Linked DNA regions of Homo sapiens: all the other regions are linked to region 6. Evidence: promoter capture Hi-C in 16 types of primary human blood cells and fetal thymus (Javierre and others, 2016). All regions are on one chromosome and are shown on one strand. The core of a region is centred on a gene start or on the middle of the fragment in contact, and the rest is flanking DNA. Distances in the headings are between cores, read along the strand shown.

The links. Contacts are between HindIII fragments. The CHiCAGO score rates a contact against its expected background, and 5 or more counts as called.
Region 1: a contact is called between a fragment that was not itself captured here and the fragment with the promoter of TXK in region 6, in 2 of 17 cell types (erythroblasts and megakaryocytes). The highest score is 8.8, in erythroblasts.
Region 2: a fragment that was not itself captured here is called in contact with the fragment with the promoter of TXK in region 6 in 1 of 17 cell types (naive B cells); the score reaches 6.3 in naive B cells.
Region 3: a fragment that was not itself captured here is called in contact with the fragment with the promoter of TXK in region 6 in 1 of 17 cell types (megakaryocytes); the score reaches 6.1 in megakaryocytes.
Region 4: a fragment that was not itself captured here is called in contact with the fragment with the promoter of TXK in region 6 in 2 of 17 cell types (erythroblasts and megakaryocytes); the score reaches 11.9 in erythroblasts.
Region 5: a contact is called between a fragment that was not itself captured here and the fragment with the promoter of TXK in region 6, in 3 of 17 cell types (megakaryocytes, erythroblasts and fetal thymus). The highest score is 10.1, in megakaryocytes.
Region 7: a fragment that was not itself captured here is called in contact with the fragment with the promoter of TXK in region 6 in 1 of 17 cell types (erythroblasts); the score reaches 5.4 in erythroblasts.

The regions. Positions count from the first base shown.
Region 1 is chr4:48,523,927-48,527,803 of GRCh38, forward strand. FRYL (FRY like transcription coactivator) reads right to left here. Exons shown (of 64, transcript NM_015030.2): 53 at 3,551-3,727. Among named protein-coding and RNA genes, the nearest start is that of ZAR1, 36 kb to the left of the region's middle. The HindIII fragment of the contact is 5,857 bases long and covers 1-3,877 here.
Region 2 is chr4:47,671,505-47,674,993 of GRCh38, forward strand. CORIN (corin, serine peptidase) reads right to left here. Exons shown (of 22, transcript NM_006587.4): 10 at 2,889-2,996. Among named protein-coding and RNA genes, the nearest start is that of MIR8053, 21 kb to the left of the region's middle. The HindIII fragment of the contact is 5,425 bases long and covers 1-3,489 here.
Region 3 is chr4:48,563,308-48,567,113 of GRCh38, forward strand. It overlaps FRYL (FRY like transcription coactivator), which reads right to left. Exons shown (of 64, transcript NM_015030.2): 29 at 2,224-2,384; 30 at 1,626-1,736; 31 at 641-795. Among named protein-coding and RNA genes, the nearest start is that of ZAR1, 75 kb to the left of the region's middle. The HindIII fragment of the contact is 1,731 bases long and covers 1,122-2,852 here.
Region 4 is chr4:48,504,489-48,507,809 of GRCh38, forward strand. FRYL (FRY like transcription coactivator) reads right to left here. Exons shown (of 64, transcript NM_015030.2): 60 at 1,059-1,127. Among named protein-coding and RNA genes, the nearest start is that of ZAR1, 16 kb to the left of the region's middle. The HindIII fragment of the contact is 1,594 bases long and covers 836-2,429 here.
Region 5 is chr4:48,546,014-48,549,615 of GRCh38, forward strand. FRYL (FRY like transcription coactivator) reads right to left here. Exons shown (of 64, transcript NM_015030.2): 39 at 3,460-3,602; 40 at 2,677-2,780; 41 at 1,571-1,756; 42 at 54-258. Among named protein-coding and RNA genes, the nearest start is that of ZAR1, 58 kb to the left of the region's middle. The HindIII fragment of the contact is 5,569 bases long and covers 1-3,602 here.
Region 6 is chr4:48,132,262-48,135,706 of GRCh38, forward strand. TXK (TXK tyrosine kinase) reads right to left here and starts at 1,989. Exons shown (of 15, transcript NM_003328.3): 1 at 1,894-1,989. The coding sequence starts at 1,909. RefSeq lists a silencer at 1,431-1,725. The HindIII fragment of the contact is 7,086 bases long and covers 1-3,445 here.
Region 7 is chr4:48,462,665-48,466,294 of GRCh38, forward strand. No RefSeq gene overlaps it. Among named protein-coding and RNA genes, the nearest start is that of SLC10A4, 19 kb to the right of the region's middle. The HindIII fragment of the contact is 377 bases long and covers 1,988-2,364 here.

The sequences.
Region 1 (3,877 bases), core at 1,378-3,877, 390 kb after region 6:
CCATCAAAACATAACTGTTGCCAATTTTAAAAGGTCAAGAGGAAATATGACAAATTTCAATTTCTCCCACTTAAGGATTTATATAAGTTATGTTTCTGTTATTCTAAGCTGCTCCTCCTTTTGTAAGGATATAATCCCTACAATTTTTCTTAGGCCCTGATATGACAAACTATATTGAGCTGGCTACCAAAATATGATTTTTTTTTTCTGTATCCCTTTACACAGGAATTGTCCAGATTAGAAGTTTTCAAATCTTTTTTTTTTTTTTGAAAGCAGAAGAATACTTATTTCAAATGAAATTTTAGATGGCAGTCAATTGTGCAAAACAGAAAACCAGAGCTGCTCTGGTTGAAGGTGTCCAGGAACTTGGCCCATTGGATCTTTGAATCTGTCCCGGCTGTTTCTGAAGATATCTTGGAAGCCCTAGGGCCCTGCATGTCAGAGTTTGAAAACCACCTTCCTGGAACATATCATTTCAAATATTATTATGTACCAAAACACATAATGGCAACAGCACTCAATATATATTTGGTGAGTGAATGAATATGCACTGTGGGCTTTCAAAGTGAGGAGATATTTTATTATAATTTTCATTAGTGGTTAAGTTTGTTTTGTAGCAATCAAAGTATTTCCTATTACCATGTTTTAAACAAGACTATATCCAGGTTTTAGAAAATGTGTATCGCTGATTTGGCGTAATTATGAGGGATAAATTAGCGTGCTCCACCCCACCCCTGATTACTGTGACTTGAATTAAAGACAGAACTACAAATGAACATCCTTAGTCCATTCTAAGGTTCTATTAAAAGCCATGTTTATTACCACTGACATTTTAGAGCACTGAATGAACTTGAAAGCATTTACAGTTCTCTTTAAACAAGAGGCAAACAAAAAGAAAAATAACCTTACCATTACAAAAATGTCAAGAGCTGCCTTTAGAAATTTAAATTCTGGACTGAAAAAAGCAACTAACTACAGAAGAGTTTAGAAGCTGCTCCTGGCCTTGGGTAGGGCAGCAGGTCTCTTTAACCTATTCCACTCCGTTACTTGGTTGTGCAAGTCTGTTCTATTTCCTACAATATATTTTTTCAAATGATGAGTGTGAAACTAATTTTAGGGTGGTAACCTACACTTTTTGAAAAAAAAAAAAAAAGAATGAAAAGGAAGAGAATAGAAAATATCAGTATGCACAGCATAGAGTTTGGATGCATATTCTTGCAACTTTTATTTTTAAAGGTATATATATATATATATATATATATATATATATACACACACTTGGATGTGATGTAAAATGTATTAACTGTGGATTAGTGTCAAAAAAAAGTTTAAAAGCTACTGCTCTGAAAGGTGCTAAATAATACCTGTTCTTGAGTTCCTATGAACCTGTACAATTGTGTCTTTGGGAAAATGTAAATGGTGGAGTATTCCATAGGAGCCTACACAGCTCCTAAACTGACATGAAGGCATTTGCATTACTTGGAGGCACCATGGTCACATCCTCACATCTGCAGGGGGCACTGAGGCATGTTGAGGAGAGGGAACTTTACTTCCTCAAACTGGTCTTCCATGGACAATGAACAGTGTGATACGGGAGAGTGCATTACATTTCATTCCTCCGCCTCACCTATTAGAGCCAAAGGAAACACCCCTACAAGAAGAGCTGATGAATGTGTATAAGCTGTATATGAGTTGTATATGTATATGTACATGAGAGTTGATCAGTGTGTATGATCTGTATGAGTTGTATATGTATATGTATACGAGAGCTGATGAATGTGTATGAGCTGTATATGAGTTGTATATGTATATGTACATGAGAGTTGATGGATGTGTATGATCTGTATGAGTTGTATATGTATACGAGAGCTGATGAATGTGTATGAGCTGTATATGAGTAGTATATGTACATGAGAGTTGATGAATGTGTATGAGCTGTATATGAGTAGTATATGTATATATGTACATGAGTTGATGAATGTGTATGAGCTGTATATGAGTAGTATATGTATATGTACATGAGAGTTGATGAATGTGTATGAGCTGTATATGAGTTGTATATGTGTATGTATATGAGAGCTGATGAATGTGTATGAGCTGTATATTAGTAGTACATGTATATGTACATGAGAGTTGATGAATGTGTATGAGCTGTATATGAGTTGTATATGTGTATGTATATGAGCTGATGAATGTGTATGAGCTGTATATGAATAGTATATGTATATGTATATGAGAGCTAAATGTATTTGAGCTATGAGTTTTGATTCTTTAGAAAAAGATACATCAAGATATGGTATACAGATACTTGGTATTAAGGCATTTTGGTCTTCTTGCATACAGATATTTGTAGCAATTTCAAAATGTACATGTTTAAAACAAATCTATTTGATATAAACTTTCAGGGTTAAGAGACTGTGGTTTAGGGAACTGAGCTCAGCTACAGAAATGGATCTCTAATAGCCTAAGACAACCAGGGTAATCCTATTCTATTCACTAGAGTGGTTGTTTCAGAAAGTAGCATGTGTCCTAATTTGGGCCAATGAGATGTTACAAGAAGTTTGCTAAGACCATTTAGGAAAGCAGCTTCCTTACTTTTCTGAGAGCATTTCTGGATGTGACCCTCACCTCCTTCAAACACTGCTGTGTGTGGGGCTAAGATTACCCAGCAATGAAGACGGTTTTGCTGCTATCTGAGGTCAAGCTGACTGGCAGAGAAGGGGAGAGCCTAGAGAACTGCAGATAAACAGCCAGAAACTTCATTGAGCCATATCTAAATATAAGCTCTAATTCTGGACTAGTTTTGTGGGCTAATAAATCTACTTTCTGAGTTTTAAATTCCATTTAGAAAGCATCTCAACTGACATAACTACCAATATAATGTAATCCAGACTAAATCAATTTAGAAGAGAAACGCTTTGAGTATTAAATGAAACCAGGCATTTGAGAGAGTTACCTACATCATAAAGAAGAAAGTGATTTCGAATGTCAAAGAAAGAAGCTCAGTCATTTGCCAAAGGGAAGAGTTCTAGAAAGACAAACCCTTTGTGATATGTCAATTTAGTGGTAAGTGTGTATATGAGTAGTATATGTATATGTACATGAGAATTGATGAATGTGTATGAGCTGTATATGAGTAGTATATGTATATGTACATGAGAGTTGATGAATGTGCAATTTAGTGGTAAGTGCAACTCTCTTTAAAGTTGTCCTTAATCAATTCTCATATAAATTTTTACCATTTGGCTGCATATTAGTTTGTAAGACAAATCATGCAAAACATTTAAGTCTAAGCATACCCTGAAAATAATTTTGAAGGAAGCCATTTTTTAATTTTATATTTTTAAAGATAAAGATGAAAAATGGAATGTTTCTCTTTTATCTCAGACTTATTCTATTGACTAATTGTGGTAATCAAATTTAATTCCTAATTTAGATTTTTACCTTTTTGACCTTACACTGACCTCAATAAGGAATGATCCTGTGATCAAATCCTTAATTCTCATACAACTGTTCTATAAATATTAACAGAGAAAGCCCACATCCTTACCTCTGCATCTTCCAATTCAACATCTAAAAAGTCAAAATCCTTAAAAACACCAAACTGTTGTTCACTGCTATTATCTTCCACAGCTACTTCTTCCTCTTGATTTATGTCTTCTGTTGTAGAAATTAGGCTAGTCTGTTGGTCACCGACTTCCAAATCCTCATTAGAAGAAAATACAACCTGATGCCCGATTAAAAAAAAAAAAAAAGTCCATCCATCAGATTTGTCACTCTGCGTATGAGGTATCAGTACCCCAAAGCCACCGCAGGCCTCATTCTTCAATGAATTCACAGCTTAAATTTGGTCTTCATGTTTAACTAGTTGAACACA
Region 2 (3,489 bases), core at 960-3,459, 460 kb before region 6:
TCATCTTGAAGTTCTTTGAAAGATCAGGAATAACATCTTGACTTTCAACTGCAAGTTAGGCACATACGCCTTATTTTTTATTTATTTATTTTTTTATTGAGACGGAATCTCGATCTCTCACCCAGGCTGGAGTGCAGTGGCACGGTCTCAGCTCACTGCAACCTCCACCTCCTGGATTCATGCCATTCTCCTGCCTCAGCCTCTTGAGTAGCTGGGACTACAGGCGCCCGCCACCATGCCCGGCTAATTTTTTTTTTTGTATTTTTAGTACAGACTGGGTATCACCATGTTAGCCAGGATGGTCTCAATCTCCTGACCTCATGATCCACCCGCCTCGGCCTCCCAAAGTGCTGGGATTACAGGCGTGAGCCACCGCGCCCGGCCTATGTGCCATTTTTAATAACACAGGAGTAATGAGGGCAAGTGGCTAGCCTAGTGGCTTTTACTCAGAAGAGAGCAGGTGCAAACGTTTGCTGAATATATGTGGAGAGAAGTTGGCAAGAATATACATGATGAATGAGGAAGCTGGTGACACAGTGAGACACTAGGTAAACTGAGTGTATTTAAAGAGCTTAAAGAGAACAACAGTGTAGAATATATCAGTGGGAAGATGACAATATGTTCTCCCACACTGAAAAGTGACTTCTAAGAAGCTAGAAGCCTGTCTCCTTTCTCCACCACTAGAAAGCCCAGCGCCCATCCCGATGCTTGGAACATCATGTACACACTACAAATATTGGTCAGCTCTATGAGCCAAGAGTTATCCAGTTGCCTTTCCTACAATTTATTCTTTTGACAGGAGACAACATATTTTAAATATTTAAAATTCGAAATATTTCAAATATAGAGAAAATAGGATAACATACACCCAGTCACTTCCTACCCAAATTTGACACAGGCTAACATTGCCTTTTCTACATTTTTGAGTCTAATAGTAAGTGTCATTCCATGTCAAACAACCCCCAAAACTTTAATAGTAAACACATGTCTTTGAGATGACACTGTCACTATTTAAGTTGAAGGTGAAGTAAGGAAATCGCTCTGAAAAATTTCCACGGCAGATTGAGAGACGAGTAAAATGAAACAATGGAAACAGTGGCCCAAATATGTTATACGTGTGTGTGTGTGTGTATATATATACACACATATATACACATATATATGCATATCTATAGATATGTTCTATTTAAATCAGTTTCTATTTAAATCAGTTTAGAGGAAGTAAAATGGCAGTTTGAGTGTGTTGACTTTGTGGCTTGACTAATATCTACTGTTCTCTCATATGGGAAATGGAGGAGGGGTGGGCATGTGCTTCCAGGCAAAGAGTTATTAAATGCCACAGTCAATCCTGTCAGTCTGGGTTAATTAGCTGCCTGCCTACACCCCCTTCCCAGCCTCCTTTTTTCACCCCCTTGAGACTCTGTAACAGTTATAGAGGTACTCACTATAAGCTCTACAGTGACCCAGAAAAATTAGGACCGCGAAACTGCAGCAAATGCAAGGCCGAAGACTTTCAGCATCCCAGCTTCCAAGGGCCTTAGACTGAGAGGACATGTGTTAAGAAGTAATACCCTGGCTGGGTGCAGTGGCTCGCGCCTGTAAGGCCAGTGGATTACTTGAGGTCAGGAGTTTGAGACCTGCCTGACCAACATGGTGAAACGCCATCTTTACCAAAAAATAAATAAATAAATAAATAAATAAATAAATAAATAAATAAATAAATTAGCTGGGTGTGGTGGTGTGTGCCTATAATCCCAGCTACTTGGGAGGCTGAGGCAGGAGAATCGCTTGAACCTGGGAGGCGGAGGTTGCAGTGAGCCGATATCGTGCCACTGCACTCCAGCCTGGGTGACAGAGCCAGACTCTGTCTCAGAAAAAAAAAAAAAAGGAATATCCTCTTGCCAACTGAAAACTGACTGACCTGCTTTTAAATTTCTAATCCCAACCTGAAAATGCAGCAAAAAGTTCATTAGAAAAAGTGAAAGAAGCGAGTATAACATGAAAACAGAGCCCAGGAGTCAGAAATCATTACTAGAAATCAGTCGCTGGGGATTTTCTGATTCCATTTTCCATGAGAGTCCATAGGGTGCTCTTTCACTTCCGCCCATTCTGTCTTCCCCAAATAACTCCTCCTCCTGAAAGTCATTTTAGAGCCACCTGCTTACACCGTTTGGAGCTGTTACACTGTCACCGAAACAAATTAGCCTAATGGTTCCGAAACCATTACAGGTCATCAGAGTTCCTGGAAAGGCGAGAATAAATTTCATTAAAAGAACCGACTGCCTATAATCCCAGCACTTTGGGAGGCCCAGGCAGATGGATCACTGAGGGTGTTTAGCGCCTGTAATCCTAGCTACTGTGGAGGCTGAGGCAGAAGAATCACTTGAATTTGGAAGGCAGAGGTTGCAGTGAGCCAAGATGGGGCCACTGCACTCCAGCCTCGGTGACAGAGTGAGAGTGTGTCTCAAAAAAAACAGAACAGATTGCCAAAGTTGTATGTGGCTATTTCTATGAACTTCATATTTGCTTCTTGGTTAAAGTTTCCATTTTTGAAGCTATGCTTTAAAAAGGAAGAAAGATAGCATCTGCCTACAGATGGAGCCAAGAAAATAATACAGAGAACTAATGCTGAGTTGAAAGTAATGGTAATGATATTAAGCAATGTGGACTTATAGGCGTTCGCAATGACACATTTGTTTCTGATTGAAGTTAATTAAGACCATTTGGTTTCTTTACTGCTACCACATGCGACCTTTTAAAAAGAAAAAGAAAATAGGTAGGCTTTTTTGGAGGGATTCCAGACTTCAGTATTTGAATGTCAATGCAGAAGAAAAATGCTGAATGCATGCCCTGACATGGCTATTGCATTTGTCAGCTGTTGTACTTACTACAGTTATTCAGACTGTTGTTCGGGTCACAGAGAGAGCTACCACCACATGAATCAAGGCAGGGATTGTAGAGGCATCTTTGGTCTCCTTCTTGACATGAAGTCTGAACTACAGAGGGAGGAAAAGGCACATTGGCTTTCATCATCTACAAATTCCTTACCTAAGGATCTAAAAGATCAGGAATGTCTGATGGAGCTGAGGAATAACACAACTTTAATTTCCTTCCAATTTCTCCAAAAGTATTGAACGTACGTTGAATAGGTGCTTTCTGGATTCATTTTCCTGGTAATTAAATACAATCCAGGTATTCCAAAATAGGAATGAAGAAATAAGAGACAAACTACACTAAAAACAGGTGGTTGTTGCATTTAATGGGAAAAAAATAGTGTTTTCTTTTTACATGGGTGCCAACACTTGATTACAAAATAAAATTCAAGAGATTTGAGGGACAGAGAACGTTATAAAAATCTTGAAATTCTGAATATTAAGTGACACTTTTTTAAGACTCATTTGCTCCCAATTCTAGTCTCCCTCTAAGGAAAATGCTTTCTCTAGTAATAAATAGGGCATCAACACCAATACAATAAGGATACTTTACCAT
Region 3 (3,806 bases), core at 737-3,236, 430 kb after region 6:
TTTTGTAATATCCACCACCACAGATAAGCAAAAAGGTCCTCACATTCAAAGGGTTAGACACGGCTGCATTTGAGCTTAAGAAAAGAAAATACAGTCAACCCTCTGTGGATCAAAAATATGAGGGAAAGGCCAAGCGCGGCAGGTCATGCCTGAAATCCCAGCACTTTGGGAAGCCAAAGTGAGAGGCCAGGAGTTCAAGACCATCCTGGGCAACATACGTAGTGAGACCTCGTCGCTACAAAGAATTTAAAAATTAGCCAGGCATGGTAGTGGGAGCCTACAGTCCTGGCTACTCGGGAGGTTGAGGTGGGAGGATCACTTGAGCCTAGGAGTTTGAGGTTACAGTGAACTATGATCATGCCACTGCACTCTAGCCTGGGTGACAGCGAGACCATGTCTAAAAAAAAAAAAAAAGGAGTATACGGGAGGATTTGCATAGAGTAAATACAAATACTACAGCATTTTATATAGAAGGCTAGAGCATCCATGGATTTTGGGATCTGAGAGGGGTCCTGGAACCAATCCCCCACAGATACTGAAGGACAACTAAACTGGTGTCTTCCTATTTTTGAATTCAAAAGAAAAACTTTTCTTTAAGAAAACAGAACAAAATGAAACAAAAAACCTGTATCTAAAGTACCTGTTCTGGAAAACATTAGCAATGGCTTTAAAGCAGCCGGCCGCCACCCTCCCGGAGCCCGTGTAGCAGCGGTCCACAGCCCAGTACATCAGGTTGCTCTGATCAGGGTTCAGCTCCAGTAACAACGTAACTGCTTCACAGCCCAGCTGGTGAACCTAGGTAAAGGTTGTGAAATTGCCCGAGAGAGAACGTTATATATTTTTTGTCTATTTCCCTATAGTTCTTACTAAAGTAATATAGTGCATATATTCATTGTAATTAATAGAAAAATTCCATCTCCTTTTGTTCACCTCCCTCTCATTTTATTCAGCCAGCAGAAAAAACCACACAGATGAACTGAATTTGGCCTCTCGCTTTTTACGCGAGCCTCTCTAGTATGATTTTGTCTTCCAACAGAGCCCTGAAGGCAGTTAATGAATATGAATAGTGATTAGGTGCTTTCAGAAAAATGAGTCATTAACCTCTCCAATTATTTTTATCAAGCTTTATTCTTGTTTTTGATAACCCAATAGAAAAACTGTTCTGAGGGGAAAAAATGTAAGTCCTATTTTAAATTGTGAAGTCTGTATATGTACAATATGAGAGTAAGGAAGGCAGAGTGTGGAGGGCAAGGAGGAATGATTAAATGGAAAGTGGTTAAAAAAACGAAATGAAACATAGCAAATAACATATTTTTCCCATGCAGCTCAATATGTTCTATGCTGGTATTTTATTTATTGACTTAGAACCCTGTTGAGAGACACATACCACTGTATTAATCCTATAATATAAAAAGGGAAATGAAAATTATTCAAATTAATGATACATAAGAATTGGAACGTTTTTACATTATGGGATCCTATTTAACTTTATATAATATGCTTTTTGCATATGATCCTAACCTATCTTATTTTTTTAAAAGACTTGTTTTTAGTGCAACATACATTAACTGCAAATAATACAATGACAACTTATTATGAACCTTTAAGGAAATTGTCATAATTACCTTTTTGTCCAGAGAATCCAAAATGTTATCCAACCATTTGTACAAATAGCCATCTGATGAAAGTCCTACATTATCTGCAACAGGGCCACAACACAGTACAGCAGACATAGCCTTCAAATAATAATATTAGAATTACATTTAACAAATTTAAGAGGTTAAATGTTGGTTGCTTAATGAGAAGAGGCAAAATACTTATCTAGTCACAATACTTTAATCTTTTTTCTTTACAAATTATTTTTTAAAACTGAGAAATTTATTATGAGTAAGTAAATATGATACCAAATTAGACATGGAGTTTGAACAGTACTGGAAGGGAAGATAAAAAGACCAAGAAAAAGTAATTAAGTAAGGGAAAAAAGGCATTTCTTTCAAGTAATCCTAAGTTCTTTAAGATAATGGTGATCAAATTTGAGTAGATTCTGGAACTGTTTTTCATTGTATTTTATGTATTTAAATATAACTTATGGTATAAGTTTTGAATATGGCAGAAAAACATTTTAATACTCTCAGATCCTCTTTTTAATACTAGTGACTGAGAGACTTAAAAATACTTAACTCTGCTCTTAAGAAAAAAGAAATCAGGTTTCTAAGTAAATACCTTTAACGCACAGTATTGATGTCTATTAATTTGCATATTTCTATCACTGTATCTGTCCAAGGGCGTAAACATGATGCTAAAAGGACCTGCCCAGTGACTGAACAGCATAAATAGACTGTGACGAAGGCTCTGTTGAGGAAAAATACTTCTTCTCTGGTGCACTGTGAATAAAAAAAGATAGAAAACATTTATTTCCATTTCTTTTTGCTTTAACTTTTATACCAACATGTTATTGAATGTGTAATAGTGTAAAAAAGAAAGCAGAAGTTTTCATTTTAAACTATCAAAAACCTCCGCGGTAGCAGGGATCATTTATATATATGCAAATCACAGAAACAAAGTTGCAGTCTGTGTCACCCTGTCCCAGCATTACATGACATAGAGCATCTCTGCAAGCAGAAATTCCATGGCAGGCTCAATGGCACATGAAGGCTGGCACAGAGGTGGGGCCAGGAGTCCATTTCTCCCTGGGCTATCACTGGCTATATGGTAAGATTGGCCAAGATTTTAACACAGACACACCTCTGTATCTTGGTTCACTGGTAAGTAAGGGCTTTGGACGAGATACGTGTTTTCAAACTTTCTATTTTTTTTTTTCAGCAGGAAAGCTGCCTTTTCCTGCTAAAGGAAGCTTACATGTAATCTCAGTATATAAAACAGATAAAAGGGCAGTTCAGGCCTAGTGTCCAAACACATTCTGCTGCTTTCTGCGGATGGCATCAGAGAACCTCAGGGCTTTGAGAAACACCAAAGTTTGAAAACCACTGGTTTAAATGATCTCCAAGGATTTTTTTCCCCCATTTTGAAATTCTACTATATAATTTCTCTACATCTATCCTTCTTGAAGAAACTCAGCAGTATCACAATAAACCAATGTGGAAGTTGTAAAAAAGTGTTTAGTAATAGACTAAACCACATCTTTATATTAGTGAGCTTCAGATCAGAAAATTTCGAAAAAAATATGCTCTTTTCCTTTGACAGTGTCATTTTCCTTTCAAAGATGAAAACAAGGCTCCTACAGTTGAAATTGACATATGTAATTAAGTGCTTAATGACCCTGTTATAAAATACAACCCATGTTCTTTAGGTATCCACTGTCTGTATATACTATTCAAAATAACAATGTGACTTTAATTTTTCAAAGAGAAAAAGAAACACTTATAGTGTATGCCAAAGGCTAGTCACATTACTTCTTACAGTTGTAAATAATTTAACTTTTAAAAATGTAATTGTGTATATTAATCTTCCTAGTATCTAAACCAGTATCTGTCGATATAGACCCTACTCAATAATTGGAACATATCTGGTAAATCAGTAACACGGTATCCTTGTTACATTTTGTATTTATGGCCTATACTCTTTTCCCATTATTCAAAAGTATCTTCTTAATTTTATTCTCAATTATCATGAGACACTGCACTCTGCTTATTGCATCTAAAACAAGGCTATCCTAAAGAGCTTATTCTATTGATTTCTCCAGGTTTTTGTGTCAGTATCCTGATTATTACTGAAATTCTATGCTGGGTTGCTTTTTTATTTCTAATCAGTGACAATAATTCAAAGGGAAAACAAACTCCAGCCAT
Region 4 (3,321 bases), core at 383-2,882, 370 kb after region 6:
AACAGTGGCAAAGACAGACAGAATTAGAACCAAAGGATTCTGGTCTAGGGTTAATTCCTTATCTTCATTTCTTTACATAGATGACTTAGCAGTTTCTTTTTAACATTAGTGCAGGATTTGGAGTCAGCCTGCCTAGGTTTCAATCTTGGTTTCACTATTTGCTGATTTTAGATAAATTAGCATCTCTGAACCTCAGTTTCCTCATCTTCAAAACCAGGATAATTAGAGCAACTACTTGCCTGAGTTGTAAGGATAAAGAAACTATAGAGGCTGGCAAATAGTTAACACTTAGCGAGTATACTATTATTTTCTCAACACTGCAGTTTTTGCAGAACTTCAATTTTTTACTATAATAAATAGTATAACCTAATAATAGTATAACCTTTACAGACACTAGAAATCTGTAATAATATAACCAAAGGTAGAATATAAAAGACTGGAATTCTGATGTCAAATGGAAATAAATTTCAGTTGATGAATGTATTTTCCCCTGTGAAGCTACACTTCCATTGGAATAATTTGTAGGCCCTAACTTATCCTCACTTACTACAATGTATGTGTTTATGTATGTGCACCTTTCTAAGAAAATATAATGCTGTTGTTTTCACTGAGCCTTATATTAAAGAAAAACATTATAATTTATCCAATTCTAATTTTACCTTTAACATGGATATATTATATCACATTATTCTTAGGTTTGCTTTCTTGACCAATTTATCTAACAGAATAGCAGAATACTAACATGGGACAAATTTTTCTTTAAGAGGCACATGCAACTTAAAAGCCGACCTGGACTGTCCAGATATCCATCAAGCTTATCTATTGGATGTTATTAAGCTTCAGTCACAAGCTGGTCGTTCATTTTTATTAAAGTGAATTTTTCATTATGAAACCAGTATTTCATTGAGCTTTTACAAAGATTGTTTTGATAACCAAAATGAAAAGTTTTACAAATATTCTTTATTTTTAGAAATAATCAAATAAGGATATTTGAACACATGCATTGTTTTACCTGATACAGAAAATGTATGTTGCAAAAACAGGAACAAGAAACTTACTTGTGCATCTGTGTTTATCCTATACATGTCTTCTTTGGCACCAAATGTCCTCTTACAATCATCTAGCCACTAAAAATAAGTAACAGTAACGTTTAATATGCACAGTAAAATGGGTAGTGTAACAGCCTGTCCATATACAACACCAAACTTAAAGTTAACTTGAAGTTCTAGGATTGGTTGTAGACCTAGACTTTTATCTCCATTCAAGCCAAATCAATCATTTATATGGAACTAACAAAAGCAGGGATAGCATTAATGTAACAAGAGGCACACACTTGTGACAGCTATACTAACAAAACCCATTCCATTCTAGGGACCTGTGATGTTCCATTTCAGTAAAGGATATTCTTCATTTTGCAGGTTTTATGAAAATCTTTACAACCTATGCCTGACCTTTGTGTAACGTAAGACGGGGAAAGGAAAGATGTGCTTCCCCTCTGATCAATTTAATAAAGACAACTTAGAATTAAGTAGGTCTGTTTGCTTATGAGAAGTGTAATTCTCAGAAGACTAGTGTCAGTTTTAAATTTGTGAACCGGCAATCAAGATCCATTTTAAGTCTTGTTTTGTTTTTCTTTTCTTTCTTTTTGGACAGTAATGAATGACAAACAAACATGTTATTTATTTCCAAACAATACTGGATGTAGAAGCCAAATGTGGTTTTTCCTTCTCTGGGGGTATTCCTAATGTTGATATAAAAGTACAGGCTGGGTGTGGTGGCTCCTGCCTGTAATCCCAGAGCTTTGGGAGGCTGAGCGGGGAGGACTGCTAGAGGGCAGGAGTTCAAGACCATCCTGGGCAACATAGGGAGACCCTGTCTCTAAAAACATAAAATAAAAAAAAAGGAATACTTCAAAAATAAAGTACATTTTCTTCAGCAAAATATAAATAAAACAATAGCACCGTGGTATAGTAGAAAAGAAAGAACGCTGGACTCACAGAATTTCCAAGCTGAAGTAAAAGCTAAGTGCATTCCAGGTAAGCTCCTAGCTTTGGACAGTTTGATATTATCAGTTGTTTTGACTTCTAAGTTCTTTTTTTTAAATTATACTATTAAACAATACAACTAATATATATATATATATATATATATATATATATATATATATATATATATATATATGAAATCATTAGGACTTTGAGAAACAGACTAGCTGCATTAAGCAGCTACTCTGAAAGTATTTTAGTATTCGACATTTAACATTCTCTATTGTAGCTTATGTTGTACCCACAAAGAAAGAATTGAAATTTGACATTTCAGTTATTTCAAAAATGATCTCTTTGACCTTATTTTCCTTTTATTCCAGTCTCTCAGATTTCACCGGCCCTTAGGCTATTTGCTTGACAGCATCTCTGAAGAAAAACATGTTAAGCTTTTCTAGTGAGATACAGCTGATGGCAGCCATTGTCAAAAGCTATCAGTGGATTTCTTTGTATCAGCAAAATGCAGTTGACATCTAACATGGAACCTGTGCATTAATCTTTATTCATACAAAATGTTAAAATATTTATACACTTAATTATGCCTTATCTTGTCCAGTTTGTCCAAGTATACTAATAAATTTGAAAATAATTTCAGTTGATTATTTATTTAATGGCTTATTTTTATACTGTGTACCTAATGATACAGCCTTTTGGGGGGCACTATTCAAAATATTGCTGATTTTTATTCTGTTAAAAGACAAACCCCAACCATATAGTCCTGTGGCTGCACACTGGCCTGAGAGATACAGGTCCACACCTTTCCAGCCAGAGCATACAAGACATGGTAGTTTGTGCTCAGAACACCCTCCAGTTCACATCTAATCAATCAGTCTTCCTGTCACGGCATTTTCTTTATTCAAGGTTCAAATGAAGGTTAAAATTTTTAACTGTCGAGGTTCTACTTCTGGGTGTGATGGAGTAGCCTGTATAAAAGAAAGAAAGACCAATCCTGCAAGGACAATGATGGAAGCTGAATCCTATCGGCCAAAACTCACTCAAACAAACAGTTAGTTAGTTAGAGAAAAGTACCGGAGTGAGCCCAATACCCGCCCCAGTGCTTACTCTACTCTAGGTGTATTCATATTCACGTCCCTGCGCATAGAGGCTGAACAGAAAGCAGTGGCCTAGAGTTTATGCCCTACAGTTTCACTGGGCTGGGAAAACAGTTTTCAAAGATAGATAGATGATAGATAGATAGATAGATAGATCGTGAGATATTGAGGGCCAATATCCTGGAGAAAAGAGAACTGCAGAGAAGTGACCCCAATAGTCTCTGTGC
Region 5 (3,602 bases), core at 1,103-3,602, 410 kb after region 6:
AAAGAATGACTTAACACATACACTGCTGGGATGATAAGAGCTGCCAGTGTTACCTTGAGGTAATGAATTCCATGAGGGTTTTGACTTTTCCATCCTGCTCCACTGAGATGTCAACCTCATTGAGGATAGTGGTGTGCAGATGTGAAATGGCAGCACTGTTATTTCCTAAGCTGATACTAGAAGAGGTAGAACTTGAGCTAAGCCCTGAGTCAGTCATAGGGGAGGGCTGGTAATCAGGTATAAAATCGTTAATGCCTGCTGAAAGAGAAAGATCGTCATGAATACCTAAAACATGAAAGAATCTCACAAAATACCTATAGAATTAAACTGTTGTTCCTTAGACTCTATGGGACACATGAGGCAATCTGTCAGTGCAAGGTGATGTGAATCAGTGCTCCTGCTGATCCTCATGAACACCAAATTACAGCAAGTAAGTTTTGGGGCAAACATTGTTTCACAGCTTGAAAACTTAGCAATTTGGATGTACTATGCAGTCCTCTGCCGCCATCTGCTGAAGAAACTTGCAAGTGGCAGTTTCCTAATATTCTGGCATATTTTGTCAACATCGCTTGTCAGTCACATTTCTATAATATGAACTGATTTTTAACTTTTTATAGAAAATTTTCTATAATTTTTGATCCATTTCCATTGCAGAAAGGCTCATCTATCTGAAATACACATAGTGCATCAATCATTTTTTAAAAAACTGTTAAAGGTTATTACTAATGCCCATATTTACAAATTGGTAAGAGAAGCCTTAAAAACAAACAAGCTATGGAATTTTGAATAATGGTGCCTTAATATAAAAAGGCAGTAAACTTCATTCCATTTTTCTTTTAATCATAGTTTTAAAAGGCTAATAAGTTTCCTAATAATTGTTTCCTAACTATAGGATTTTAAATAAATAACAGGGTTTTAACTAACTTTAAAATTGATGAACCCTGTATCTGACACTGTATGATTAGAAAAAAAAAAGGTAATTTTATTGCAATTTTGAAAAAAAAGTTTCTAGATCACTTGTTATTAGCCTGATGGTACTGATGAATGAAAGAAATGTTAGTTATAGGATATAAGAAAATATACCTTAAAAGTAAAAAACAAAAATTAACATTGACAGTGAAATAAACCATATTAAGTCTCATTAACTTGGACTTCACTACTTCAAAATGTATGTTTTTAATGCAGTAAATATAATCACGAGAATAACAAAATTTAAAATGCCTTACTTTATCAGTTTTCAGATCCTGCAAATAAGAGGAATCTAATACAAGCTCAACATCTTTTTCGTAATTCGTCCTCAATAAATTAAGCAGTTTCATTATGTCTTCAACTTACATATTCCTAAGTTAAATCTCGATAAAGATCGTTCGAGGTAATGCAGACTCAAATATTTTAAATTTAATCCCTTCTTTTATTAGCAAATAATTTAAATGGTACTTAAAATAATACAACTACATTTTTAAAATGTTCTCTAGTATTTCAACTTTTATTCAGTTGACTTTCTCTAATGCAGGATTCCAAATTAATAAAGTATAATTCTACTTTCAAATTGTACATTTAAAGCAAATACCTGTGAAATTATAATCTAAGTGTGCAACTTGTTTGACTGTAAGCACCCTGGGCTCATTAAACTCCTTGTTCCTGAGAAGGACAGAAGCAACAGTTCGGATGTTACTATTGGGTCCCATTACTATTAATAAGTGCAGAAGCAGGCGTTTACAATGTTCATACACCTCAGGGTGGCAGTGGTCAAACCCTAAAAAGGATAGTAGAGAAACATTATCAATAAAGAGAAATAATGAGTATTCTTACTACCAAACTCACATTTTGAAGAAAAGGAGAAATTATATGAAAGATTTCATGGAAGGTGACATATTATATGGTTTTTTATTGCCCTAGAGTTCTTATATACTTTTACAATAGCCTACTGTCTTATAGTACTAGGGAGACTCAAGGTAAGCTAAATGTGTTTCATGTCTAAAATTTAGTGATCTCTTAAAAATTATTTCTGTTACATAACATAAAAAAATTCATGGAAATGAATTTTTTTTTTTAAAGGCAGGGTTTTTTGTGTGCTTAGCACATAACAGAAAGTACATGATTAACTGAAGGAATGATGTAATACACCAACATTAAGTGTGCCCATCAGGAAAACTTATAAGGAGATGGCTATCTGGACTTGCTTCAGGAAGCCAATCCTATAAGCATCAAATGTATTATAGATATGGTAGATCCCACATGTTTGCTACAGAAGGCACGATGGAGTTTCAGGTATAATAATGAGGCTATCCAACAACCCAGTTCTTTTGGGAAATACTTAGAACCTATCTCAACTTTTCATTCACTCTGAAAGTTTCCAATCCCAGAGTTAAGTTAATTTGACTCTTGCCACAGCCACAGAATTTTTCCTTGGTATAGTATATGTGTGTTTGTGTGTGGGCAGGCGAGGCCATAAGATAGGAATAGGAATGGGGGTAATAGACATGTTTGTTTGTGGTTAGAAGAGGGGCCAGACATAACTCCCCAAGAGACCAGAGGAATCATAGTGAAAAGTGTCATGGAAATAACATAAAAATAACAGGAAACAGAAACACATAAAAACTGTCATAAAACCATACTGCTTTTAAATTATCATAAAAATATAACATGAAAGAATTAGAACCAAATATTTATTACCTATAAAAATTGCATGAAGAAGAAGATGGAGGTAGCTTCCCCATTCCACCTTCACACTATGATCAATGATGAGATCAGTCAAAAGGATCACTGCTATGTTACACCTATGACAAATAAGAGTTTCATTAACGTTTTACTAGATCTCAGTAAACCTAGAGAGAATTTGGTACAAAATTACTTGAAGACTTTAATATCACATTTCATGGAAAAATACAACTTATCAAGGAAAAAGGAGGAAAAACAAATACAGCTGAAGAAAACGTTAACCATTAAGTTAAAGAGATGGAACAGAACATAAGGGCTAAGGGTTCCTTGAACTCAGGAGCCACATTTTCTTCATCTTTCAACCTTGAGACTTAGCACACTGCTTGCCACAGTAGGTGTTCAATACATGTTTGGTGCATTAATACATTTTGAAAGAATGCAGTAATTGCTCTATTGTGATTTTGCTAAGTAGAATTCAATTTAACTCGATGCAAAATAATAGTGCCTACCATAGGAAAGTCATATTTTTCAGATGTAGTAACTGGGTCCCAGAAAGGTCAAGTAACTATGCCAGACACCCAGAAAAGCAGCAGCAGAATTAGATTTAATAATATTAATTTTATAAAGTTAGAATTCTGAGTTTTTTAGATTTCTTAGAATCTAAACACATTGATCTGTGTTGCAGTATCTCCATAAAGAAGATTGCTTTCATTCTGTGTTGTCAGATAGCACAAAGAAAGCCGACAGTGTTCAGCAGCAACTTGGTGCATATGTAAAAGGAATGACGCTGTAGTCCACCTGTGAAGAGGTAATCCAGGTGATGACGTTTCAGGCACGTAATCCACCAGTGGTGACCAGCAGCCTCCAGCTGGTGGGAAGGGCAGTGGCTCTCCTTGGTTATGCTCCATCACTTTCAGTCGCCAATTAGAATAAAGTGGCAT
Region 6 (3,445 bases), core at 739-3,238:
ATCAGACAGTATTTTCCTTCCTTATCTGCAAAATAAGGCCCTCTGAGTCTTAGAGGTAAATTAATAAGTATTTCCAAAACTGCACATGGGACTGAATAGTCTTCCAAAGCAACTCCCAAAATAAAGTTCTTAAAGCACCTCTCAGGTTTATTGTTTCTTTATATTTTGTTGCAAGGTGGGCAAAAAGGGAGTGGCCTGGGCTAAAGTTCTAGTTCTGATTTCGTCCAGCATTTGTGGATCACAGTTGGCAGCTTTATATGTATACAAATATACACATACACACACTCCCTTTGAGAGCTTATTTATACATATAAACTCATTTATATATGTGTGTATGTGTGTGTGTATATATATTTAAGGCAAAAGGAAGAGCACTTAAATCCCGAGTCTGGCAAGTCTCATGCTTGGCCGCGTGTGGTGGCTCATGCCTGTAATCCCAGCACTTTGGGAGGCTGAGGCAAATCACTTGAGGTCAGGAGTTTGAGACCAACCTGGCCAACATGGTGAAACCCTGTCTCTACTACAAATAGAAAAACTAGCCAGGCATGGTGGCATGCGCCTGTAGTCCCAGCTACTCGGGAGGCTGAGGCAGGAGAACCACTTGAACCCAGGAGGTGGAGGTTGCAGTGAGCTGAGATCGTGCCACTGCACTCCAGCCTGGGTGACAGAGCAAGACTCTGTCTAAAAAAAAAAAAAAAGTCTCATACTTAAATCCTGCGTCTGACAACCATATGAGTTTCTGGCAAGATTTAAACTTTCAAAGGCACAATTTTCTTATTGGCTAGATAAGAATAACAATTTTCACCTTGCCAGTTTGTAGTGAAGATTTCAGATAATGAATATAAAGGAACTGGTATAGACCATGGCCCATAGTAGGTGCTCAATAAATACCTTTATAAAGAAACAAACACATTGCAATTCTGATATGACGGCTGCCTTCTTATTTAGAAGACTATTCTGCTTGGTTTTTTTTTTTATTCTAATTTCTTTGGATTTATAAGCATCCCCCACAGCTCTTTCAAACCAAGGATCTTCACAGATAACAGTGTCTAGGGAATCTTTCTCTGTTCTCCTAAAACAAGCACTTATTTTTAATGATGGTCTTATATTCTATAAAAATATTAAAATAACATCTTCATATGTAGTATTATATATGAGGGAAAGAGACATTTGAGCCAGTGTTCACACTTGACCATGTTCACACTTTTAACCAGGTAGAGACTCGTGACTTTGACTCTTATTTTGGCCTTTACTCAGGCTCTGACTGCAGATAAGAATCAGTTTTGCCTAAATTTCAATTGCTTGGGAAAGGTCCTCGATAACGGAAGTCTACATAGAATTGTGAATAAATACCCCTGTGAAAATAAAGGTTAAGTCTATATGTTTACTTGATAAAGCAGATAATTTCAGAGTATAAACACAGTTGTGTTTTGACTTCTCTTCCTTTTGCCTTAAATATAGATATTTATTTGTGTGTGTGTGTATGTGTGTGTATTTATATATATATAAAGTTGCCCACTGTGATCCACCACTGCTGGAGCAAATCCAGAACTAGAACTTGGTCTCCTGGCCTTCAGCCCAGAGCTCATTACAGTCTCATTCTAAAAACAAGTACTTCATACTGATTGCATTTCTACACACACATATGCAGATTTCTGGACACTCTTTCTGTTTTTCTTTCATTTATGTTCTCAATGCTGAACCTTTATTAGAATTACATCATCACTGTGGTTCTTTAAATAAGAAACAAAACTCTGTCACAACATCTGAGGAAATTATCTTTTAATGTCCCCAAGCTCTATGCCTTGGAAAAAAAAAACTTCCTCTGCTGTTCAAGAATAACAGGCCCCAGAACAAGCCCCAAAAATAAATGACAAAGCCCATCTTACTCACAGGAGGAAAGGATCATGGTAGCCCCTTCTGCGGGGAGCACACAACAGTCTTCAGTTCTTCTGCGGTGCTCTACTCACAAAAACACATCTTTCAACTGAAATCATAGTTCGCTCAAGATGTTTCTCACGGGCAGAGTTAACCCCACCTATTTTCCTGTTCTGAAAACCTCAGAAGAGTATAAATGACAACCAATGGCATATATAAGAAAGCTCAGTAATCTCCATCCCAATCTCTGAGGGTATCTGCTATTAGTCTCTCATCCCCAAAGGTGTGGGTGACTCGCAAACATCATTTTCAAGAAATCACAAAATTTTGGTAAAAGGCACCTTTAAAATTATCAAATCAAACTGCCCTCTCTGGACTGGGAAGGAAATGAAGGCACAGACAGAATAAGGGACTTGCCCAAGGCCACACCGTGAGTGGCAGAAACAATTAGATTCTAGGCTCTGGAATATTGAGTTTAGAATGTTCCATCCTCCCACTCAGCAGACACTTTATTTGGGGGAAGTCAATCTAGTAATAACCCTAAAATGTGATTGGGGGATGGCTGAGAAATATAAAAACACCAACAATACAAAACACACTTGGGAGTTTCACTTCATCCCACTGGAAAGCATAACCATGTGTCAACTAATTAACAGAGCAACTTTAATGAAGACACAGCATATTCTAATCGCCCTTCCAATTTCCTGGTTTAGATTAAGGTCTCCTTAGCATTCTGGGTGATGACTGTTATTTTTACTTCACCTTTTGCCTTTGTTATGCTTTCGTATAAAACTTTTTTTCTAAGTCTTAGTGAAAAATATTTAAAGATTTTTGAAGGAAATGTTGACAAATGTTGCCAGGTGCTATCTATCTTGTTTTCCCATAAAAAGCATACACTGACCATTAGGACAGGGACTCTATCTTCTCCTCACTCTCTTTCATACCACCTAGTACTTCCCGTAGCTCCTCAAGGTGAAAAGGGAAGTATGGGATGGGAGGAGGGAAGGTCAGGAAGGAAGGAGAAAAGGCTGACAGTGATAGTAAGGTAGAGTGTGCCAGGACCGACTCCTTCAATGAGCTACAAGTCAGTTAAAAGTTGTGCATGGTTAGCAACCAAAATGCCCATCAATGATAGGCTGGATAAAGAAAATGTGGTACATATACACCGTGGAATATTATGCAGCTATACAGAATGAAATCATGTCCTTTGCAGGGACATGGATGGAACTGGAAGCCGTTATCCTTAGCAAAGTAATGCAGGAACAGAAAACCAAACACCACATGTTCTCACTTATAAGTGGGAACTGAACCATGAAACACATGGACACAGGGAGGGGAACAACACATACTGGGGCCTGTTGGGGAGGGCAGATGAGGGGAGAGCATCAGGAAAAATAGCTAATGCATGCCAGGCTAATATCAGGAAATATATATATCAGGCTAATATCAGGAAAAATAGCTAATGCATACCTAGGTGATGAGTTTTTGATAGGTGCAGCAAACCACCATGGCACACGTTCACCTATGTAACAAAACTGCACATCCTGCACATGTACCCTGGAATGTA
Region 7 (3,630 bases), core at 926-3,425, 330 kb after region 6:
GTAGCTGAGACAAAGGACAGTACAAACCGAAGTCATGGATCTGATTTTCTGGAACCACTTGAATCATCAAATTCTAACTCACCAATCAGACAAGAGGGGGAAAAACATCTTTTCAGCATCTGTTTTTAATGACTGATAAATTTCTCACTAAGTATCCCCTCTCCTCCATGGAGGTAGCCTTTATTTTGGATGGTGGAAATTCCCAGGAACAAGCTTGGCCGTAAGCCTCCCCTCTTGCTGAGGCTCGCCCGACACTCAGCTCTAGGATGGTGTAGTTGGAGGAAGGATTTCCAGGGCATGAGGGGACTGGCAGAGCATTCCTCTGGTGATATTTTCCTGCTAGAAGACCCCTTGGCTTTCAATACTCCCAACTTCACAGAATGCAGCCTCTCAATACATTTTTCAGCTGAAGTTTATAGAGAAAAAATGTTTACTTATGACCCCAAATCCAATATCTTAAAAATGATGCATAGGTAAAGTCTCAAATTATTTCTGAAAATAACTAGGGGACATCTGAATGGTGTGAGGATGGTTTGAAAGGCATCAAGGGTGGTCTGGCTGGGCCATTTTATTAGGGGGTCTTCAGTGTCATTATCTTTTGATCACAGCTTGTAGGTTCTGAAAACCAAGTGGAAGGAAAGAAGCTATGGAAAGCACAGTATCCTGCTTGCACACGTTCACCTATTCTTCTGCTTACCGTATTTGTGCCCTCAACTCTTCCTGATATCCCCCAGTGCAGAGACTCTTTTACCTTCTCCAGAGAAGAAACCTCCCATCGAGAGGAGCATCTTAGTCAGTTCTGGCTGCTGCTACCAAGTAGTATAGACTGGGTGGCTTATGAACAATTGAAATGTATATCTCACAGTTCTGGGTGCCAGTATAAATTGGCTGTGGTGAGGGCTTTCTTCTGGGTTGCAGAATATTGTCTTTTCACTGCATCCGCACATGGCAGAAAGAGTGAGAGAGCTCTCTGGGATCCCTTTTAAGGGCACTAATCCTATTCATGAGGGCTCCACCCTCATGACCTAATCATCCCCTCAAAAGCCCTACCTTGTAATACTATCATATTGGTGTTAAGATTTTAACATATGAATTTTGGGGGAACATAAACATTCAGTCCATAACAGGGAAGTTGTACAGACACATAAACTGGAGTGTAGAACTGGACATTTAACAACCTCTACTTCTTCTTTTACTCCTCTCCCCCTACTCCCACACTTGAACCTCTTCTCCTCCTTTGAAAACAGGTTTTATTGAGATATAACTTACATACTGAGAAATCCACAAACCTTAAGGGTGGACCTAACAAAGTGCATCGTTAACAAACCTCCTGATGTTGGCCTATCCTTTGCCCCATCTTCCTCAAGTACATGGTGCTGTACATTCTTGAGCCATTGGGAATTTTGGGATGTAAATGGAGTTACTGGTGTAGTCAAACCCCAGTCTGGGTGACAGTTGGGCTGGCTGTCATTACTAATTCTCTCAGGAGACATTTCTGTTTTCTCTTTTTCTTCCCTAGCACCTAGGCTGAGATGAACAAGATACATTTTTATGTGCTTTGCCTTCGCTAAGGCACAGATACTTTTTCCTCTCCTACCTTTGTGAGGAGGCTGTGGCCCTTCAAGGCTCTGGCTTTATGTGGGCAGTCCCACTTCCTACTCCCCACCTGTGTATGCCCTGGGTTCTGTCTCTTGTGCCCTGTCTTTGCTTACCCCCATCGCAGCCTCTCTCCAGGGTTCTGGGTTCCTAGTATTGGCAGATGCTACATTCCTGGTTTTCAAAGACTATTTATTGTATTTAATTCAGCAGTTTTGGTGTTTTGTAGCTGGAGAATTTTTCAGAATATCTAGTCTGAGGTATTGCCAGGAACAATTAATCTTGTTAAATCCTATTCATCTTAAAAGGCTCAACTCAAAGGTCACCTCTTATGTAAAAGCTCTCTGTCCTTCTCCTGGAGGAGTTAGCCTTTCTTCCTCTAATGAAAGAAAGCTTCCACAGGCCCTGGTGACATCCCCACTCCAGGGCCGTCACTCACTTAAAAAGTTGCCTTAACTGTGTCCTTAGGGATCTGTCTCCACCACCAGTTAGGAGCTGCTCAAGGCAGGCACTTTAGGATGCATCTCTTATCTTCTACATTTAGTCCAGTGCCTACCACTGGGGTGTGGTGGGTGGGGGGAGGGAGAGGGGAAGAGACAATTCTAAATACTCACGGAATTAAAAGAAAGTAATTGATAATGCACTAATGCCATGGTTCAAGTTCTGCCGAGGCTCGCTCCCAGTCATGTGTGTTATGAGATACTCAATATACACACATTCAATACAAACACGTATTGGATGCCTTCATTCTGTCCCTGAAACTTGCCAAGCTTCTTCCCATTTCAAGGTCTTTGCAATTGTTTTCTTTCTGCTTGGAATGCCCTTCCCCTGGAAGTTCACATGGCTACCACCTTCCTCTTAGGTAGGTCCCAACTCAAATGCTGCCTTCAGAGACAGGGCTCTCCTAACCACCCCCACCCATGCCCAGCCAGGTTATCCAAATATTCTCTTCCTCATAGCATATGATTATAGAATCACTTAAAGTTAGCTTATTTTTAAAAACGTAATGCAATCTACATACTAGTATTCTCAGAATCTAGGATGATGCCACATGATAAATATTCAGTAAATAATTTGTGGACTGACTGCCTAATATGAATAGGTGCAAAGGATTTTTAAAAAATGAATATGGGGCCCTGGTAGGTTCACAAAGTTCAACTGCTGAAGACAGATCTTCTTTCAGACCACTTTTGAGATTTTTCTATGGCTGTGGTAGACAACTCGTAACATCTGCCTTTTTCTAGGCCAAAGTTTTCTAAGTTATCCTCTGGAACTCTGGGGATCTCACTCATCATGGAACCATGAGTTGGAGTGGGTTCAGCCTGTTTTCTAGGTAAAGTCCTGCCTTCGTCTGTAGGTAGTGCCGGCTTTGGTTCTCCTCAACAGTGTTACAGAGTGGGGTGGAATTCCTTCCAGATGGGACTTTGGCTCTGTTTGCCTTAAAGCATGTCCACCCCCCGCCCCCCACCAACTGCTTCTGCCTGTCCTTCCATCCTGTACTAGGTAGAAGGGAGGCATGAGATGTAGATAAGGGAGAACACACTTAGTTGGGATTTAGAAAAATGAGGTGGTACAAGGTGCCAGGGAGTTAGAAGAGAGGGTAGGGCTAAGAAGTGGGATAAAGGGAGAAAAAAAAAAGTGCAAAGGCCTCAGAAATAACTTGGGCCTATTTGGATAAGTAGGGTCAATTTTGCCTACAGTTAGCTTGAAAAAAAAAAATGCAGTTTCTCTTGACTTATCTTGGCAGGAAAGCTTGTGTGAAAATGGGGTAAGGGGGCCAAGCAGGGTCACTGACACTTGTAATCCCAACACTTTGGGAGACCGAGATGGGCAGATCCCTTAGCCCAGGAGTTCAAGACCAGCCTAGGCAACATGGTGAAACCCTGTCTCTACAAAAATTAGCTGGGTATGGTGGCACGCAGCTGTAGTCCCAGCTAATCTGGAGGCTGAGGTGGGAGGATTGATTTGAGCTCCGGAGGCGGAGGTTGCAGTGAGCTAAGATTGCATCACTGCACTCCAGTCTGGGCGACAGAA